Linked DNA regions of Homo sapiens: all the other regions are linked to region 3. The links are contacts of gene promoters, found by promoter capture Hi-C in human tissues and cell types (Jung and others, 2019). All regions are on one chromosome and are shown on one strand. The core of a region is centred on a gene start or on the middle of the fragment in contact, and the rest is flanking DNA. Distances in the headings are between cores, read along the strand shown. Region 1 overlaps OR7C1 (olfactory receptor family 7 subfamily C member 1). Region 2 has its middle 16 kb from the start of OR7C2. Region 3 holds the start of OR7A17 (olfactory receptor family 7 subfamily A member 17).

Evidence for each region. The method cuts DNA at HindIII sites, captures the fragments that hold promoters and counts their contacts. A contact is called where the count stands out against the background at its distance.
Region 1: a contact is called between a fragment that was not itself captured here and the fragment with the promoter of OR7A17 in region 3, in 3 of the 25 tissues and cell types used here (aorta, liver and psoas muscle).
Region 2: a fragment that was not itself captured here is called in contact with the fragment with the promoter of OR7A17 in region 3 in 2 of the 25 tissues and cell types used here (H1 embryonic stem cells and adrenal gland).

The regions. Positions count from the first base shown.
Region 1 is chr19:14,827,070-14,830,657 of GRCh38, reverse strand. All of the region lies in intron 1 of OR7C1 (olfactory receptor family 7 subfamily C member 1), which reads left to right. OR7A5 (olfactory receptor family 7 subfamily A member 5) reads left to right here. Exons shown (of 2, transcript NM_017506.2): 2 at 2,404-3,588. The coding sequence starts at 2,417. The coding sequence ends at 3,376. Among named protein-coding and RNA genes, the nearest start is that of OR7A5, 6.3 kb to the left of the region's middle. The HindIII fragment of the contact is 4,789 bases long and covers 1-3,588 here.
Region 2 is chr19:14,923,761-14,927,445 of GRCh38, reverse strand. It overlaps the pseudogene OR7A15P. Among named protein-coding and RNA genes, the nearest start is that of OR7C2, 16 kb to the left of the region's middle. The HindIII fragment of the contact is 7,045 bases long and covers 1-3,685 here.
Region 3 is chr19:14,884,270-14,887,779 of GRCh38, reverse strand. It overlaps OR7A17 (olfactory receptor family 7 subfamily A member 17), which reads left to right and starts at 1,648. Exons shown (of 3, transcript NM_030901.2): 1 at 1,648-1,839. It also overlaps the pseudogene OR7A18P. The HindIII fragment of the contact is 7,391 bases long and covers 1-3,510 here.

The DNA.
Region 1 (3,588 bases), core at 190-2,689, 57 kb after region 3:
ATCATTAAAACCGACATAATTAAATACTATTGTTAAATTAAAAACCATGAAGTCAATAAAGATGTCAGAATTCTTTATTTTTGATCTTTTATTTATTTTGCCAGGCATCGAGGAGATACAATGGAAGCTGAAATGTAACCATAACCAGGGTCGCTTTTATTTTCCATCCTATAAGATCCCCAGCAAGCCTTTGTCTCCTTGGAGTCAGTTCCTTTCTTGCTAACCTACCCGTTGCACCCTTGCAATGTATTTTTGTCCTTTTGCTGAGGGATTACCTGAGTTTATTAGACTTTTTCCTTACTGGGGTCTGTTTAATTTCTCTCACTCTGTTTATTGAACAGCTCTTTTATGTTTCTTTAAACACAGGGCTGAAAACAGTCATACCAAAATGGAAGTCCAAGTTTACATGTGTATACAGACTTGTGAACTGGAATTTCTTGTACCAATTCTACATTCTGTAGGGAAAAAAGAATCTGATATTAAAAGCTTTCCTTGAGCCAAATGCAGTAGCTCATGCCTGTAATTCCAGCACTTTGGGAGGCCAAAGTGGAAGGTTCACTTGAGGCCAGGAGTTCAAGACCAGCCTGGGCAACATAGGCAGACCTGGTCTCCACAAAAAATGTAGAAATCAGCCAAGGGTGGCGGCACATGGCTGTGGTCCCAACTACTTGGGAGGCTGAGGCAGGAGGATGGCTTGAGCCTGGGTGGTTGAAGCTGCAGTGAGCTATGATCACACCACTGCACTCCTGCCTGGGCCCTCTTCGGCCAGTGTGCTGCATGTGTATATGTGTGTGTGAGTGAGTGTGTGGCTGCATGTCTTTGGAGTGACAGCAGGTTTCAGAGCAAGAGGGACCTGGCCTCAATATATTTTATTATAAAGGAGACCAATGAAACAGAGGCCAGAACCCAAGACACCAGAAGGAAATAAAGAGGGGATGCATTTCAATTGATGTGACACCTTTCTAGTCCAGTTAATAAAGTGCAGGTGCAACAGCATCTAGACAGATGGACACTTTGTCCCTTGATGTTTTGACAGCCAGGTCCCCTTATTCTGCAACATCCTCTGACACCATGTCCCATCACTCTCCGTCTTACTGATTCCCTGGCCACACTGGCTTCTGTGTTGGACTTGAACATCTGAAAGAAGCACGTCCCAACCAGGTGCAGTGGCTCATGCCTATAATCCCAGCACTTTGGGAGGCCGAGGTGAGCGGATCACCTGAGGTTGGGAGTTCAAGACCAGCCTGACCAACATGGAGAAACCCCGTCTCTACTAAAAATACAAAATTAGCTGGGCGTGGTGGTGCATGCCTGTAATCCCAGCTACTCGGGAGGCTGAGGCAGGAGAATCGCTTGAACCTGGGAGGTGGAGGTTGCAGTGATCTGAGATTGCGCCACTGCGCTCCAGCCCGGCAACAGAGCGAGACTCTGTCTCAAAAAAGAAAACAAGAAAGAAGCACATCCCTCAAAGTTTTTGTACTGCCATTCCTCCTGCCAGGCACCCACTTCAACAGATAACTTCATGAATCTTGCCCTGTCTTCCTTGAGATCTTTTTTCAAACATCACCTTGTTTGCAGGTCTTGAATAATAATCAGCAAACAAACAAACAAAAAACAAAAGAAACACTTCATACCCTCCCTCCTTTTTACCTGCTTTGTTTATTTTCCAAGCGCCTGTTCCCATCTGACATATTATGTGATTGTTTAATTTGTTTATATTCGATTGTTTAATTTGTTTATATTCTTTCTTCATCATTAGATTGTAGGGACTTTTGTTTCTCAGCATTGTTCACTCATTATCTAGACAGTGACAAGAACATGGTCAACATTCAATTTATATTCCTCAAATTCATAGAAGAAGTTCTCATTCTTTTTTTTTTTTTTTTTTTTTTTTTTTTTGAGATGGAGTCTCGCTCTGTCACCAGGCTGGAGTGCAGTGGCATGATCTCAGCTCACTGCAACTTCTGCCTCCCGGGGTCAAGAGATTCTCCTTGCCTCAGCCTCCCAAGTAGCTGGGACTACAGGCGCATGCCACTACACCAGGCTAATTTTTGTATTTTTACTAGAGACAGGGTTTCACCATGTTGGCCAGGATGGTCTCAACCTCTTGACCTCGTGATCCGCCTGCTTTGACCTCCCAAAGTGCTGGGGTTACAGGCATAAGCCACCGTGCCCAGCCAGAAGTTCTTATTCTAACTGCAGAATGTACGCTGTCTTCAGTTAAGGCTGAGAGTGGGAAGGAGTTCCTAATCAGAGATGACATGGAGATCCCTTAAAGAGAACCAGATTCATACACAAAATGTAAGATAATTTATTGGCTATAAAATATAAATGATGGTATTTCTGAAAGGTTAGCAATGCATGCCTGTCTCGTTTCCCTCTTTCTCTCTCTCTCTCTGATAGTCACTTCAATCAAATGGAACCAGGAAATGATACACAAATTTCAGAATTTCTTCTTCTGGGATTTTCACAAGAACCTGGACTGCAACCCTTCCTCTTTGGGCTGTTCCTGTCCATGTACCTGGTCACTGTGCTCGGGAACCTGCTCATCATCCTGGCCACAATCTCAGACTCCCACCTCCACACCCCCATGTACTTCTTCCTCTCCAACCTGTCCTTTGCTGACATTTGTGTTACTTCCACCACCATTCCAAAAATGCTGATGAACATCCAGACACAGAACAAAGTCATCACCTACATAGCCTGCCTCATGCAGATGTATTTTTTCATACTCTTTGCTGGATTTGAAAACTTCCTCCTGTCCGTGATGGCCTATGACCGGTTTGTGGCCATCTGTCACCCCCTGCACTACATGGTCATTATGAACCCTCACCTCTGTGGACTGCTGGTTCTAGCATCCTGGACCATGAGTGCTCTGTATTCCTTGCTACAAATCTTAATGGTAGTACGGCTGTCCTTCTGCACAGCCTTAGAAATCCCCCACTTTTTCTGTGAACTTAATCAGGTCATCCAACTTGCTTGTTCTGATAGCTTTCTTAATCACATGGTGATATATTTTACAGTTGCGCTGCTGGGTGGAGGTCCCCTGACTGGGATCCTTTACTCTTACTCTAAGATAATTTCTTCCATACATGCAATCTCATCAGCTCAGGGGAAGTACAAGGCATTTTCCACCTGTGCATCTCACCTCTCAGTTGTCTCCTTATTTTATGGTGCAATCCTAGGGGTGTACCTTAGTTCTGCTGCCACCCGCAACTCACACTCAAGTGCAACAGCCTCAGTGATGTACACTGTGGTCACCCCCATGCTGAACCCCTTTATCTATAGTCTGAGGAATAAAGACATAAAGAGGGCTCTGGGAATACATTTGTTGTGGGGAACAATGAAAGGGCAATTTTTCAAGAAGTGCCCATGATTGCAGGGCTCTAAGCTTCAGAGGTAGTAACTGTCATTCTTCAATCAGATAGTGGAAATAGAACTTGCTCCTTCTATTAATACTTATTATATTTCTGGGAGTTTCAATTTGTTGTGATTTCAACTGGTCTTGTAGAATTTAAGCAACTCCTTTTATTAAGCTTTCTGCTCTCTGATATCCAACAGTTTTTTCTCTTTGTTGTTTTCCTACTT
Region 2 (3,685 bases), core at 414-2,913, 40 kb before region 3:
TGTCCAATCCTACAAAATGTATGAAAAAGTACATCTGGGTGATGCAGCCTGCAGAGGTGATGACTTTGCTCTGTGCCTGGATATTCACCAGCATCTTTGGGACCCTGGTGGAGGCAAAACAGATGTCTACAAAGGACAGGTTGGAGAGAAAGAAGTACATGGAGGTGTGGAGGTGGGAGCATAAAATGATAACCAGGATGATAAGCAAGTTTCCAAATACAATGATGAGGTACATGGATAAGAACACTCCAAAGAGAAATCGTTATGCTCTGGTTTCTCTTCAAATTGTATAAATCTTTTGCCTTTTACCAAAGAGAAATCGTTGCAGTCTGGGTTCTTCTGAAAATCCCAGAAGTCGAAATTCTGAAATTCGTGTATCATTCTCTGGTTCCATGTGGTAGAGGTGACTATAAAAAAAAAAAAAAGAGAGAGAGAGAAAATACATGACATAAGCATGCTTTTTTCACCCATCAGAAAAGCTATTATTTATATCCTACAGTCAGCAAGTTAATTTCTATATTTTGTGTGTGAATCTGGTCTACTTTATGAGATCTCCCATCCCATCTCTGCTTAGGAATTCCTTTCCCATGATGCTCAACTTTTCCCCAAATGGTCATTTATTTAAAAACTTTGCCGGGTGCGGTGGCTCACACCTGTAATCCCAGCACTTTGGGAGGCAGAGGTGGGCGGGTCACCTGAGGTCGGGAGTTCAAGACCAGCCTGACCAACATGGAGAAAACCCATCTCTACTAAAAATACAAAGTTAGCCGGATGTGGTGGTGCGTGCCCGTAATCCCAGCTACTCGGGAGGTTGAGGCAGGAGAATCATTTGAACCTGAGAGGCAGAGGTTGCAGGGAGCCAAGATGGCGCCATTGCACTCCATCCAGCCTGGGCTACAAGAGCAAAACTCCATCTCAAACAAAACAAAACAAAACAAAACAAAAACCAATACTTTAATGATAAATTCTTTCATGGATTTGAGGAATTTAAATTGAGTGTTGTCAACGTTCCAGGCTCTGTCTAGACAATGAGTGAACAGTGCTGAAAAACAAAAGTTCCTACAGTGAAGTATGGAGAAGAATACAAGTAAATCATATACTGTGTCAGATGGTAACCAGGGCTAGCAAGAAAAAGAAAGAAGGTAAAAAGGCGAGGGTGGATAGAGGATGTTAATTTTCCTAGGTGTCCAGAGAATACTAGCAGTCAAGGTGATAGGTGCCCATCAATAGTGGATTGGACAAAGAAACTGTGGTACTTATACACCATGGAATACTAGGCAGCCATAAAAAAGAATGAAATCATGTCCTTTCCAGCTACATGGATGAAGCTAGAGGCCGTTATTCTGAGCGACCTAATGCAAGAACAGAAAACCAAATATCGCATGTTCTCACTTATAAATGGTAGCTAAACATCGAATATACGTGAACACAAAGATGGGAACAATTGACACTGGAGACCGCTGGACAGAGGATGGAGGGAGGGGGATGTGAGCTGAAGAACCATCTGTTGGGTCCTATGCTTACCTCCTGAGTGATGGGATTGTTAGGACCCGAAGCCTCAGCATCACACAATTTACCCGTGTAACAAACCTGCACATGTACCCTTTAATCTGTAAGAAAAGCTGAAATTTTTAAAAAGAGAAATGAGACCTCAAGGAAGACAGGGCGGGAGCCATGAGGATATCTGGGAATGTGTGTGCCCAGCAGAAAGAATGGCCGGTGCAAAGGTGTAGAGGAAGGTTTCAGATGTTCAAGGCCAACGAGGAAGCCAGTGTGGCAGGGAAATCTGTGAGAGGTAAGTGATGGGAGATGGTGTCAGAAGATGTTGCACTATGAGGTGACTTCATTGCTGCTGAAGCTTCAAAATACAAGAAGTCCCTCTGCCCAGATTTTGTTTGGTTTGGTTTGGTTTTGAGACAGAGTCTCACTCTGTCGGCCAGGCTGGAGTGCAGTGGCATGATGTGGGTTCACTGCAACCTCCACCTCCTGGGTTCAAGAGATTCTCCTGCCTCAGCCTCCCAAGTAGCTGAGACTACAGGTGCCTGCTACCATGCCCTGCTAAGATTTATATTTTTTGGTAGAGATGGGGCTTCACCATGTTGGCCAGGCTGGTCTCAAACTCCTGACCTCAAGTGATCCTTTTGTCTCGGCCTCCCAAAGTGCTGGGATTACAGGCGTGAGCCACCACGCCCAGGCTTGTCCTGATGTTTTCTATTTGCACTTTAATAAATTGGCTCCATGTCCCATGAATTGAAATGCATCCTTTGTTTATTTCCATATGCTGCCTTGCGTGCTGACCTCTGTATTCTGAGTCACCTTTTGGAATATATTGAGTCCAGGTCCCTTTACTTTTTTTTTTTTTTTTTTTTTTTTTGAGACGGAGTCTCGCTCTGTTGCCCAGGCTGGAGTTCAGTGGCGCGATCTCGGCTCACTGCAACTTCCGCCTCCCAGGTTCACACCATTCTCCTGACTCAGCCTCCCAAGTAGCTGGGACTACAGGCGCCCGCCACCACGCCCGGCTAATTTTTTTGCATTTTTAGTAGAGGCAGGGTTTCACCATGTTAGCCGGGATGGTCTCGATCTCCTGACCTCGTGATCTGCCTGCCTCGGCCTCCCAAAGTACTGGGACTACAGGCGTGAGCCACTGCGTCCCTCTACTCTTAAAAGGGATATCTCTACCTCATTTGTATGTCATATTCTTTTATGCCTAGGTCTTTGCAACTTTAATTATTTATCCATGTTGAAAACATTAAATTATTGCTACTTCATATCTTGTTTCAGTTAATTAGCAAGGCTCCTTTCAATTCTGTTTAATGATGTTATTTTGAAATCACTCTCCCCACTAAAGACAGACACACATATGCACAATTAGTACAGACACACACACAGGCACACACTTGAAGCTGAATGAGGACTCCTGGGACTGTGTTTATAGCAAGCTGTTCTCACCTCCAGTCACACCATTAATATTAGAGAGGAATGGAAATGAAGCAAGCTTTCAATATCAGATTATCTTTCCATTTTTTTGTATGGTCATGTTCTGTCTTCTGTTTAAAAAAACATAAAAAATTATAAAAATACAACAATTTTGCTTGATAAACATACAGAGGATAATTAAATAAAACCCAAGGGGGGAAAATCTAATAACCTCAGATAATTCCTGGGAGACTAGGAAGAAGAAATAGCTTGCTTGAATGAATTAATGGCATTCGCAGTGACCTGGATGAGATTGGAGACAATTATTCTTTTTTTTTTTTTTGAGACAAAGTCTCCCTCTTTTCCCCCAGGCTGGAGTGCAATGGCATGATCTCAGCTCACTGCAACCTCCACCTCCCACGTTCAAGTGATTCTCATGTCTTAGCCTCCTGAGTAGCTGGGATTACAGGCACCTGCCACCACGCCCGGCTAATTTTTATAGTTTTAGTAGAGATGGGGTTTCACCCTGTTGACCAGGCTGGTCTCGAACTCCTGACCGAAGGTGATCTGCCCGCCTCAGCCTCCCAAAGTGCTGGGATTACAGGCATGCGCCACTGCGCCCAGCTGGAGACAATTATTCTAAGTGAAGTAACTCAGGAATGGAAAACCAAACATTGTATGTTCTCACTCATAAGTAGGAGCTAAGTTATGAGGATGCAAAGGCATAAGAATGACTCAATGGACTTTGGGGACTCAGGAGGAAAGGGTG
Region 3 (3,510 bases), core at 399-2,898:
TCTGTTCATGTCAAAGACATAGAATCAACCCAAATGCCCACCAGTGATAGACTGGATAAAGAAAATGTGGTACATATACCCCATGAAATACTATGCAGCCATAAAAAGGAACAAGTTCATGTCTTTTGCAGGAACGTGGATGAAGCTGGAAGCCATTACCCTCAGCAAACTAACGCAGAAACAGAAAATCAAATACCACATGCACTCACTTATAAGTGGGACCTGATCAATGAGAACATATAGACATAAGGAGGGGAACAACACACACTGAGCCCTGTTGGGGGGTGGGGTGGGGGGGAGGGAGAACCTTAGGAAAACTAGCTAATGCCTGTGGGGCTTAATACCTAGGTGATGGATTGATAGGTGCAGCAAACCACCATGGCACACGTTTACCTATGTAGCAAACCTGCACATCCTGCATATGTACCCCAGAACATAAAATAAAATAAAAGGAGTCTAAACATTTTTAATGTGAATTTTTGGAGCCAGGCAGAGGAGGACAGAGAAGATGTCCCTGAGTATAATAAAGCAGACGTGGAAGGACACTCATGCAATCTCCTCCCCGTGTGGACCCCTGGAAGCAGGTGTCCCTTCATGATCACAAATTTCTGTCTCCGAGAAGCAAGGCATGTCCTTTCCCAAGAAACTTTTCCAGAATCACAAACTTTTCCTACTCTTTGCAGGGATGAATGTATTTCTGCAGACTGTGATGGCCTATGACCACTTTGTGGCCATCTGTCACCCCCTGCACTACAGGGTCATCATGAATCCTGGGATCTTTGGACTGTGGGTTCTGGTGTCCTGGAGCATGAGTGCCCTGAATTCCTCACTGCAAAGCAGAATGTGTTGCAGCTGTCCTTCTGCACAAACTTGGAAATCCCCCCATTTTTTTCTGTGAACTTAATCAGTTGATCCTGCTTGCCTGTTCTAACACTTTTTTTTTTTTTTTTAGTGAGATGGAGTTTTGTTCTTATTACCCAGGCTGGAGAGAAATGGCGCCATATTGGCTCACTGCAACCTCCACCTCCCGGGTTCAAGCAATTCTCCTGCCTCAGCCTCCTGCATAGCTGGGATTACAGGCAACTGCCACCACACCCGGCTAATGTTTTTGCACTCCAGCTCAGGTGATACAACAAGACTCCATCTCAAAAAAATATATATATGAAATTCTAATGTTTTGGCAAAAGCAACATGAAGCCAAGAAATGTAGTACCCATGGTTTTATATGAACAGAACACAGTTCATCTCCTTGCAAAGGTAAATTGCCATTTTCTGGATATGTCAAGAGCTGAGTTTCCATCACAAGCCAGTGCTTTGGAGACTCAAGGGACCTAGTCAAGACAGGTTCCTCAGTTTAGACTTTGGAGGAAATTTTCACTGAAGGCTGGGAGAAGGTGCTAGGAGAATGGGACTCTGGAAGCCAAGGAAGTCCACGGGGAAGGAGTAATAAAGCCTGGATACACCTCACTTTTAACATAGTGTCTTGGGAATAGACGATACAGAAAAAAAAAACAACAATGACATTTGTTTCAGTGCAGGGCAACGTCCCCCAGGAAACTGATGTGTTCAGAGTTGGAATAACAGGAGGAAAGGTATCTAATCAGCAGATATACGAAGCCATAAATATCTCCTCTGCTGCAGTCCCTCAGCATATGCAACCTTGGGCTGGAAATGACATGGTGGTTTCATTTGGAGTCCTTAGTCTGGCTCAAGTATAGATGATGCTTCAACTTTTCCTGATGCCTTGTCTTGAGACAGAGATTCCATCTCCACCATCAACCTGCTAGAGAGGAATTTACACTTCTCCATGGAGACCTTCCTTTCAGAAAACTCAGTAGGGTAAGTCCCAGAGCCCAGTGGGTACTGTAGGAAAGGTCAGGAAGAACAAGAGCCGTGAATATTAACCTGAGGTCACCTGAGAGCCAATCATTTCCTCCAGCTTTGTTCCTTTTGCTTAGAAATGTCTTGGCTATACGGGCTATTTTTTGGTTCTATATGAAATTTAAAGTAGTTTTTGTAACTCTGTAAAGAAAGTCAATGTTAGCTTGATGGGGATAGCATTGAATCTATAAATTACTTTGGGCAGTATGGCCATTTTCAAGATATTGATTCTTCCTTTCCATGAGCATGGAATGTTTTTCCATTTGTTTGTGTCCTCTCTTATTTCCTTGAGCTGTGGTTTGTAGTTCTCCTTGAAGAAGTCCTTCACATCCCTTGTAGGTTATATTCCTAGGTATTTTATTCTCTTTGTAGCAATTGTGAATGGGAGTTCACTCATGATTTGGCTCTCTGTCTATTATTGCTGTATAGGAATGCTTGTGATTTTTGCACATTGATTTTGTATCCTGAGATTTTGCTGAAGTTGCTTATCAGCTTAAGGAGATTTTGGGCTGAGACGATGGGGTTTCCTAAATATACAATCATGTCATCTGCAAACAGAGACAATTTGACTTCCTCTCTTTGTATTTGAATACCCTTTACTTCCTTCTCTTGCCTGATTGCCCTGGCCAGAACTTCCAACACTATGTTGAATAGGAGTGGTGAGAGAGGGCACACTTGTCTTGTGCCAGTTTTCAAAGGGAATGCTTCCAGCTTTTGCCTATTCAGTATGATATTGGCTGTGGGTATGTCATAAATAGCTCTGATTATTTTGAGTTATGTTCCATCAATACCTAGTTTACTGAGAGTTTTTAGCATGAAGGGGAGTTGAATTTTATCGGAGGACTTTTCTGCATCTATTGAGATAATCATGTAGTTTTTGTCATTGGTTCTATTTATGTGATGGATTACATTTATTGATTTGCATATGTTGAACCAGCCTGGCATCCCAGGGATGAAGCCGACTTGATGATGCTGGATAAGCTTTTTGATGTGCTGCTGGATTCAGTTTGCCAGTATTTTACTGAGGATTTTCACATTGATGTTCATCAGGGATATTGGCCTGAAATTTTCTCTTTTTTTGTTGTGTCTCTGCCAGGTTTTGGTATCAGGATGATGCTGGCCTCATAAATTGAGCTGGGGAGGAGTCCCTCTTTTTCCATTGTTTGAAATCGTTTCAGAAGGAGTGATACCAGGTCCTCTCTGTACCTCCGGCAGAATTCAGCTGTGAAACTGACTGGTCCTGGGCCTCTTTTTGGTTGGTAGGCTATTAATTACTGCCTCAATTTCAGAACTTGTTATTGGTCTATTTAGGGATTTGACTTCTTCCTGGTTTAGTCTTGAGAGGGTGTATGTGTCCAGGAATTTATCCATTTCTTCTAGATTTTCTAGCTTATTTGCATAGAGGTGTTTATAGTATTCTCTGATGGGAGTTTGTATTTCTTTGGGATCGTTAACTTTTTTGGTTTACTTTTTAGAGCCTGGTTCTCACTATGATGCCCCGGCTGTTCTCAAAATCCTGGCTTCAGGTGACCTCCCTACTCAGCCTCCCAAAGCACTGGGATTACAGCTGTGATCCAATTATATTGCCCTCCTCATTGACTGTTAATGAAATATTTAAGGAAACATTTT